Regions from separate parts of the Homo sapiens genome. Here region 1 is linked to region 2. Evidence: promoter capture Hi-C in 16 types of primary human blood cells and fetal thymus (Javierre and others, 2016). All regions are on one chromosome and are shown on one strand. Each heading gives the region's core, a stretch centred on a gene start or on the middle of the fragment in contact. The rest is flanking DNA. Distances are from core to core; before and after follow the strand shown. Region 1 overlaps PACS2 (phosphofurin acidic cluster sorting protein 2). Region 2 holds the start of PACS2 (phosphofurin acidic cluster sorting protein 2).

Region 1 (4,625 bases), core at 1,877-4,376, 43 kb after region 2:
AGGTGACAGTGAGCCCGGCTAATTTTTGTATTTTTGTAGAGATGGGGTTTTGCCATGTTGGCTAGGGTGGTCTCGAACTCCCTACCTCAGGTGATCCGCCCAGCTTGGCCTCCCAAAGTGCCGGGATTACAGGTGTGAGCCACCGCGCCTGGCCCAATGCTCCATGGTTCAGTGGGTTTTGATAGGCATGCTCAGGCATGTCAGCACCACCGCAGTTAGGGTGGTGAACAGCCCCATTTTCCCCTAAGTATTTAAACTGATTTTTATTTGTGAACTCTGAGTGTCTAAGAGATACCTGTGAACATCAGCTTGCTGGAGCCCTGCTGGACAGGGAGCCTGTGGTGAGACGTGCAGGCGAGTTGGGTGAACAGGGGGCCTCGGAGGGAGAGCCCTCCCCGCCCTGTGTGCCCCTCGCGGAAAAGCGTCCTGGGTCCCACCTTGCTGATTGCCTCAGGCACATGAGCCGCCACACTGTTTCCGAGTGTCCACAGGCGCGCTCGGCCATCCCGGACACTGCAGCACATAGTCCTTGTCCACCTGCCATGGCTGTTAGCGTGGCGCGGAGCCCTCAGGGCCTGAGCTCTGGCGACTGGCTCACTCTTGATTGTGTTGGGTAAAGGATGGGCTCTGGGGACCGGCATGCCACTGGGATGAACTTGGGGGCCCGTCTGTGGGTGCCCTTCCGATCTCATGGGCAGCAGGTTGGCCTGGTCGCAGGCTGCAGGGTGGCTGGGCCGTCAGAGGCCGTGATGCTGCCTGGGGCCCCGGTGCACCCTCAGCTGCCACTCGCACTTGTGCCCACAGTATCCTCACTTCTTGAAGAGGGAAGGCAACAAGCTTCAGATCATGCTGCAGCGCAGAAAGCGCTACAAGAACAGAACCATCCTGGGCTACAAGACGCTGGCCGCGGGCTCCATCAGCATGGCTGAGGTGAGTGCTCCGTCTGGCGTGGCCTGCGTCGGGCTGGCCACCTGGGTGCCAGAGCATTCGCCCGTGGGAGATGGAGATGTCTCTCCCGGGTCCAGATGTCCAGGGATCAGGTGAAAATGATGAGAGGAGCCTGGGCGGCCGGGCTCCGCCATAAGGGCCAGGTGCGGCCCCAGGTGGTGCTTCCTCTCTGACCTTCCCTTGCCGCCTAGCATGGCTCCCCGCATGCCTGCAGCCGCGCGCACTCCCCTCTAACGAGCCTGTCCTGCCCTTCAGTGGAGGCTGGGTTTTGGGTCAGGCTGCTCTGGAGTCCTTCCCATGGAGGAATCGCTGCTGTCCCCACACCACGGGTGCGTCCTGTGATGGGTTCGTGTCTGCATCCTGCTCAGCACGTGCTCTGGCCCAGGATTGGCTGAGCAGGAGCAGGACAGGTGTCAGTTCTGTGAAGGGGCTAGCGACAATACCCGAGCAGGGCGGGGGCAGCACCCAGAGGTCAGAGGGGTGGCTGGAGTTCCCTGGAGGGGAAAGAAGGGGAAGTACCTCAAAAGGAAAAGAAACAGCCAAGCAGCAGCCCACCTTGCTCCAGAGAACCCAGCGTTCCAAGGAGGCTGCAGTAGGGCGTGGGGGCCTGGGAGAAGACACCCCAGGCTGAGGCCTCGGACTTTCTCATGGACCCTTTCGGGGCTGCAAGATTGGCTCTGGGAGAAGGGGCAGCCCAGGGCCCCAGACCAGTTTGTCTCTTTTGCTTCAGAACTTTCCCCATCGTGGGGTTGTGTTCAGGGGTCCAGGGGCTGCGGGCGTGAGTGGTGCTTGGGGCATGTGAAGCTGGGTTGCTGCCTGCCTGGGGCCTGGGAAGGTCAGCCAGCGCAGCCCCTCATTGGGAGCCGGAGATGCCAGAGCCCCCCAGCCCCTCTTCTTCCCACTTTGTCCCCCTGCTCCTGGGGCTTGGGGCTGGGACAGTGGGGGTGCCCACTTGTAGCTGGTTCCCCCACACCCCCAGGCCCAGCCTGCAGGCCTCCTGTCTCCCAGGTCAAGCGCTAGGTCCCCCAGATCCTCACACACCCCCACTTACGCATCCAGGACAAGTGCCAAGTACTACTCTGGGCTCAGCCCTCCCTGCTACCCCAGGAGATGGGAGCGTGGAGGGTACAGGAAGCAGCAGTGGCGTCCCGAGGCCTCGCTTCTCCGTGCCGCCGCAGGGCCTCAGACAAGCTTTGCAGTCTTCCCGATTCCTTCGGCAAACCACGGACAGCACGGGTGGACCGGGCCTCCAGGCTGCACTTCCCAGGGCCCTGGGACCCCTCTGGTGGCCTGGAGCTGCCCATCATCCCAGCCTCCCTCCTGCAGGCTGAGCGATGGGTGAACAGGTAGCTCAGGGATGCTCTCTGGGCTGTGAGAGCCTCCTGGGAGCCACCGCTTGCTTCCTGTGGAGCAGGAGGGTCCAGGCACTGTGGGGAGGTCATGCAGGCTCTGTTTCCCATTAGCCATGCAGGCGAGGTCCTGCTGATCCCTGCCGGTCCCTGTGTTTCCCATTAGCCATGCAGGCGAGGTCCTGCTGATCCCTGCCGGTCCCTGTGTTTCCCATTAGCCATGCAGGCGAGGTCCTGCTGATCCCTGCCGGTCCCTGTGTTTCCCATTAGCCATGCAGGCGATGTCCTGCTGATCCCTGCCGGTCCCTGTGTTTCCCATTAGCCATTCAGGCGATGTCCTGCTGATCCCTGCTGGTCCCTGTGTTTCCCATTAGCCATGCAGGCGATGTCCTGCTGATCCCTGCCGGTCCCTGTGTTTCCCATTAGCCATGCAGGCGATGTCCTGCTGATCCCTGCTGGTCCCTGTGTAGCCATGCAGGTGATGTCCTGCTGATCCCTGCCGGTCCCTGTGAGCTCCTGCCCCAGGCTGCTCCGCCCACATCTCTCAGTCTGCACCCCAGTGCCCCAGGCGGCTCCTCCCAGCCCCTCTCAGCACTGGTGCTTCTGTGTTTGACGTCCTTGCCCTGAATGCTGGCCTCTGCTCCCAGGCCCCTCCCTCACCTGTCCTCCCAGCCTTGGGCTGTCCCCTCCTGATCCCCGGGGAGAGGCTGGAGCAACCTTCCCCCACCCCAGGTCACACCAGCCACATCGTCTGCTGCTTGAAATCCCATCATCTGTTCTTCACTCTTGGCAGAAAAGCCCCACCCCTGGATGTAGTTCCAGTGCCCTGCCCCTGAGCCTGTGGCCCCCACCCCAAGGCTCCCTCGCCCTGCACCTGTGGCTTCCAAAGCCGAGGTCATCTGACTGCTCCTCGCTCTCCCCTCCAGCATCTCCTCCAGGCCCTCGGGGCATCCTTCCACCTTCCACTGGCAGCCTGGTCCCAGAACCTAGTTGGGTCCTCCCATGTGTCCCCGAGCACCAGGGCGGTTCATGGGCTCCCTGTGTCCTGCCACCTTTTGGGGCTGGTTCCCACCTGTGAGCGTTGCTGGCTTGTTGAGAGTATGAGCACGGGAGATTGCGGAGGCGGGACAGCCCCGAGGGCACAGACGGACACAGGTGGCAGAGGTGGGGGGCTCTCACCAGCTGGGCTCAGGCAGCTGTGCCATGGGGGCTTGCTGGCTCCGAGACTGCACGCCTGAGACGGGGGTGAGGGCATGGGTGCTGCCATAGGGACTGTCGTGAGAGTGGGGTGTCGGTGAGGCTGGCGCCATGCATTTGAGAGTAGTGCTCGGCGGTGGGGAAGGGTCCTTGAGGGCACAGGGTGGGGTGAGGCGGGCTGTTGGGCGGACTCGAGGCCAGGGCTGAGAGTGTGGTGGGAGAGGATGTGGGGGGCACCTGCCCAGGACCTCCAGGCTGTGGGGAGACCAGGAGGCGATGGCTGTGGGGACACAGGTGTCATCTCCCTTCAAATGGGTGCACACGCAGGGGGCAGGAGGGGCTGGGAGCAGCCTGGGCCCCTGCCACACCATAGCTCTGCCCTCACCTGGCACTCATTCTGTGTGAGCTGAGGCCCAGAGCCCTGGACTTACTCTGAGGCTGAGGAAGTGGAGTCCAAGGTGGCCCAGGGTAGGGGCCGGGCCTCATGGGTGCCAGGAGCTGGACGCCGGCGTGGGGTGGCTTAGGTCTGCAGGCTGACCAGCAGTTCTGGCTGGGACCATCAGGAGTGACCGCAGCCCCAGGGCCTGCTGGGCACGCGCCTCTGCCTGCCACTTCTCAGGAAGCTTGAGCTGACTGCAGGTGGTCCCTCTCAGAGGCAGCTCCGCAGAGGCAGGTGTGCGGTGGGGGCAGACGTGGGGCCTTCTCCTGTGGTGTGGCTCTCAGAACTCACCCCAGCACCCGTAGAGGGAGTGTGTAGGGGTGGGCGTTCGTGTGGCCAGACCACCCTGGGGCTGCAGCCTGGGAGACGCAGGCATGCCAGCTGGTGGCCATTGTCTGAGGCTGGGGCCTGTGGGCTCCCCGACAAGACAGGAAGGTTGACAGACCCATGACCAGGCGAAGGGGTGACCTGGGAGTGCGGTGGTGGCTGAGGGAGCAGCCATGCTTCTTTGCACAGCCGGACTCCTCTTGTGGCCTCGCCACAAGCTGCACATGCCACTGGGGCCAGGTCCAGCCCAAGGGGACCTGTGAGGGGCGGGCGGCTCATGGTGGGACACAGGAAGACCTCAGGGTAAGGACAGCGCGGGAGCGTCACCCTGACCGTTTGCATGCTGGATTCCCTTTAGTTTCTCT
Region 2 (4,322 bases), core at 1,008-3,507:
CTCAAACCAAGTTCCTGCTTTAAAGAAAACGCTACCAGAGAAAGCACCTGTGCTCCAAACACGGGGGTGAGGGCTCACACCATGCCAGGGTCATAGCATGGGGAGGGATGCCTCCCAGCCTTCAGGGGATCTCCTCCTGTGACCCACAGCCCTCAAGAGAAGGACCAGCACAGCATCATTTTCCGACAGAGGAGGGCAGTGCAAATAACAAGTTCTGGCTAAAAAGTTACTCTGATCACCCAAGGGACATCTGTGCACTTGGAAAATACAGAAGACCACAGTCCCATCACCACCATCCCACCTTAAAAACAAACATAAACGTGGTCGCAGGCGTGACACATGGTGTGTTTCGTGTCCCTGCTTTCCTGCCTGGCAGAAGCATTGATGTAGACCCACCATACGGGTTCTTCGGGCCACTCTGGTACAGACTGTGTGGGTCATATCCCGACCCCTGGCAGCTGCATAACCTCACAGGCCGCCATCTCCTCTTTTGTCACTTGGGATGGGACAGAACTGTCACGTCCCTTAAGGGCTCACAACGGTGCCTGGCACAGAGGAGGGGCACCGCTCAATGGTGGCAGCTGGTGCCAAGCCCTGCTGTGCACGGCTTAGTCACCCCGCATCTCCTCACTTGACCCCCAGTTGTAGTCCCTGCCTGGGTTAGACGCTGGCATACACAGGCACCATGTGTCAGGCGGCCCATCCGTCTGACTGCAACTGCACGCTCGCCAGGTCCAGCAGCGCCGTACGCTCAGTTCTGGGGTCAATGGGTGCCTGTCTCCTGCCCTCCCATCACAGACAGCCTGTCCTCCTGGGGTATGGCTACCCCCTCTCTGGACATAGTCACTTCTCCCCCTACCCTGTCTCAAAGGTATGAGATCCACCGGCCCTCTGCCCGCCGAGCAGCTGGCCAAGGTCAGACAGACCCTCATGGCTCTCAGTGTACCACCTTAGAGGAGCCAGGGGCGCGTGGGAAACACAGAGTCCCTTGTTCTCTCCGAAGTGGGACCCTGACTTTAAGCAGTCGCAGCTGTTTGCAGTTCTAGATACAGGAGTTACAGCTGGAGGCTGAGCTCTCTCAACGGAGGAAGCAGCGGCATGAGGGCCTTTGCAGAAGGAGCTGACGGGGCACTGGGGTGGCAAGCCCCGTGGGCCAGGAAAGAAACCAGCTCCAGGTCAATTTGCTCGGGCTGGATTTGTTTCAGTAAAACTACTTGTAGACAAGACACAGGGCGAAGAGAAAAGCAACTGTAAACTAACTGTGAAACAAGGAAACAGAAGAGAGGCCAGAAAACCGTTTCCTAAATCTCGGCTTGGCATCTGGTGCTGGACCACAGCCGCTGCCAAACAGATGGGGGAAGCACCCTCCCTGAGCCCCAGAGCCTACACGTCGGGCCCCAGCGGCTCTAGCCATTGCCTCCTCTTTGCTTGGGTCCCCAAGTTCACTGTTAACCCCAGGGCCAGGAGCCAGCCTTGGCCCCAGACATTTGTTCTCCATTGTCCTGAGCACAACGCTGAAAAGCGGCGCTGAATAAGGATGCTGGGACGCAAAGAGGGCGCCCGGGGTCATCTGGAGCCCTGGAGGCTAAGCTCGGCAGCCTGGCGCCCCGAGTGGCTTCGAGTCCCCGCGACCGCCGCCAGGCCCGGCCACCTCCTTGCCACCTCCCTGCGTCCCGGGGAACCCACGCAGGGGGGCGCGAGGGAGGGGCTCGGGGACGGGCGGGGCCCGCACAGCCGGGCCAACCCAGCGGGGGTCGGCAGGAGACAAGGGGCGGCGAGGGCAGGGGGGCGGGGAGACTCGGGGCATGGCGGGGTGGAGGCGGGAAAGTGTCGAGGCCGGGGAATCCGCGCGTGGGGAGGTGGGCATCGCCAGGGCGACGATGAGCTTTCCTTAGGGGGCGGCGCCTGAAGCTGGCCGGGACCCGGTGGACCCCCACGACTCTCCCGGCCCTTGCCCGCGGCTCCCGGGGGGCGGGGCGGGGCGCCCCGGGCGGGGTCTGTGCGCAGGCGCGTGAGTGCGCGCTCTCGCGCACCGGCGGGCGGGGACGCCCCGTGAGGCGCCGCCGGAGGAAGCGCGCGCGCACCTCACTTCCGGCGCGCGCTGCGCCGGCGGCGATTGGACCCGAGGCGGCGAGCTGGCGCCCCGCCCAGCCAATCGGCGGCGCCGGCGCGGGTCGGAGGGCGCCGGGCGCGCGCGGGGCGGCCGGGGGCGCGCGGGGCGCGGGCGGGGCGCCGGGCGGGGCGGGGCGGAGCGGCCGCAGCTCGTCGCCGCCCGCGGGCCTGTCCGACGCCGGGGCCCGGCCCGTCCCCTCCGCCGCCCGGCAGCCATGTGACCGCGCCGCCGCCCTCCGCGCGCCCGGCCCGCCCGCCGCGCGTCCGCGGCCCGGCCGCAGCCCCAGGCCGCCGAGGGAGCGGCGGGGCCGGCGCCATGGCCGAGCGAGGCCGCCTCGGCCTCCCCGGCGCGCCCGGCGCGCTCAACACGCCCGTGCCCATGAACCTGTTCGCCACCTGGGAGGTGGACGGCTCCAGCCCCAGCTGCGTGCCCAGGTACGCGCCGCCCGCCGCGCTTTGTTCCCGCCGGGCACCTGCTGGGGGTGTCCTGGCCGCGGCCTCTGCGCGCCCCATCCCCGGCCCGGGTCCCCCAGCGGAGCCCAGGTCGCCCCCCGCGCCCCCGCCCGCCGGTTCGACGCGTGCAGCCGCCGCCCCCCCGCAGCTCCGGCAAGCGCGGCCCCAGCCCCCCAGGTCCCGAGCACCGGGGGCCGCGCTCAGCTTCCGAGGACCCGGTGCTGCTCAGACCCGGCGGGACCTTGGGGCTCCCGGGCGGCGCTCACCTGGCTCGCCGCAACCGCACCTGCACACCTGCCTCAATGCGGTGCCGGCCGGGGTGACGAGGGTGCTTCCTCTCTCGGGTACCACACGCTTCCTTTCGCGTTCGGCGACACTGTCAGACCTCGGCCTGGGAGCGACCCCCGGCGCACGGGGCGCGCAGGACTCGGTTGTATCCTCCGTCCAGCGCGCGGTGGAGATGCCCTGTCCTGCGGGGCGGGGTCGTCCTCGCGGGTACCTGGTTGGCGCTGTCTCTCATTTAGAGGCGTCGCCAAGCCAGTACTGCTATTTGCGCCTCCCAGTTGATCTTGCCATTGCGGAAGACTGGCTGTTCTGCACTTGGTAGGGGGGCGCCCGGTCGCCCAGCGGTAACGATTGGACAGGGTTTACCCTCCGGCCATAGCCCAGCCTTCCTTGGACTTGCAGCTTCCCTGAGTCTCCTGCTCAGTTTGAAACTTTTGTAATTTCTTCGTGACTTGGTAGTTCCTGCTCAGGAAGCTCCCAGGCTAAGGAGGAGAGAGACACGCTCTCCGGAAAAGTTCTGGTTCTAGAATAGACAGCAGGCGAGAAGAGGAGGCGGTTGGGGGTAGTGAGAGTTCTCCCTGGGGAGATGGGAGGGTGAGCGGACCTTCCAGGCACTGGAAGTGGCCAGTATGCCTGGAGGGGACCCCACGTGGCATTGAGTTGTTCCACCCCTAGTCAGCTGCAGGTGGGCCTCTCCGTGCTTTCCTGTGGCTCCCACAGCCTGCATCTCTGAGCGTGGTGTTGGAGTTGCAGAGCCGCTGGACAGTGGGGCTTGCCCTCCTGGAGCGCAGGGTTGGGACCTCGGGGCTTTGGTTTTGCTGAGTGGACAGGAAGGATGCCCACCCGGCACGACTCTTGCACCTGGCGGGGCCTCCCGAAGGACCCAGTGTCCATATGAGACCTAAGGGTCAGCATTTGCCCAAGGTCTGGGGCCGAGCACTGCAGATGTGCCTGCTTGCCTCTCTTCTGGGAAGTCTCTGGGGCCTCAAAGCCAAAGCCAGGAGCATCTCCCCAGGCCTGGCTGCTTCTCCATTCCAGGTCTTGGCGATTGCCCCAATGTCAGGTCCCACAGCCCCACAGCCCTTCTCCTGTCTGCCCCTCTGAGTCACTGCCTCACCCACAGCCCCAGAACCTTCATGCGGGCTGTTGGCGCTCCCCTGCTCCAGCACTGCAGCACATAGCCTGCCCTTGCTGAACCTCTGCAGCAGCTTCCTGGGGCCCTCCGAATGAGCAGCAAAGTCTTTAACCCAAGGGAGGTGGGGGCGTGTGGCAGGAGGGGCCGGGGGCCTTATCAGCCCCCCTGTGGAGCTGTGCTCTATTCTCCAGGGGTCTAGAAAGCCCACTCTGGTGTCTGTGGGGAGGGTATGGGTAGGGCGGGTTTCGAGAAGCCTGGTTAGGACAGGCGGGGGTAGATGGGGGCACCTGGGCTGGGTAGCACTAAGTGCTGGGGGGGGTCCCGAGCTCTGGCCTGG

What was found. The method cuts DNA at HindIII sites, captures the fragments that hold promoters and counts their contacts. A CHiCAGO score of 5 or more calls a contact.
Region 1: a contact is called between a fragment that was not itself captured here and the fragment with the promoter of PACS2 in region 2, in 1 of 17 cell types (endothelial precursors). The highest score is 5.2, in endothelial precursors.

What each region holds. Positions count from the first base shown.
Region 1 is chr14:105,354,248-105,358,872 of GRCh38, forward strand. PACS2 (phosphofurin acidic cluster sorting protein 2) reads left to right here. Exons shown (of 25, transcript NM_001100913.3): 4 at 805-930. Among named protein-coding and RNA genes, the nearest start is that of PACS2, 42 kb to the left of the region's middle. The HindIII fragment of the contact is 1,978 bases long and covers 2,138-4,115 here.
Region 2 is chr14:105,312,491-105,316,812 of GRCh38, forward strand. It overlaps PACS2 (phosphofurin acidic cluster sorting protein 2), which reads left to right and starts at 2,258. Exons shown (of 25, transcript NM_001100913.3): 1 at 2,258-2,547. The coding sequence starts at 2,429. It also overlaps a transcript of BRF1 not described here. RefSeq lists silencers at 1,620-1,709, 1,810-2,339, 2,480-2,569, 2,800-2,879 and an enhancer at 2,624-3,275. The HindIII fragment of the contact is 4,816 bases long and covers 1-4,322 here.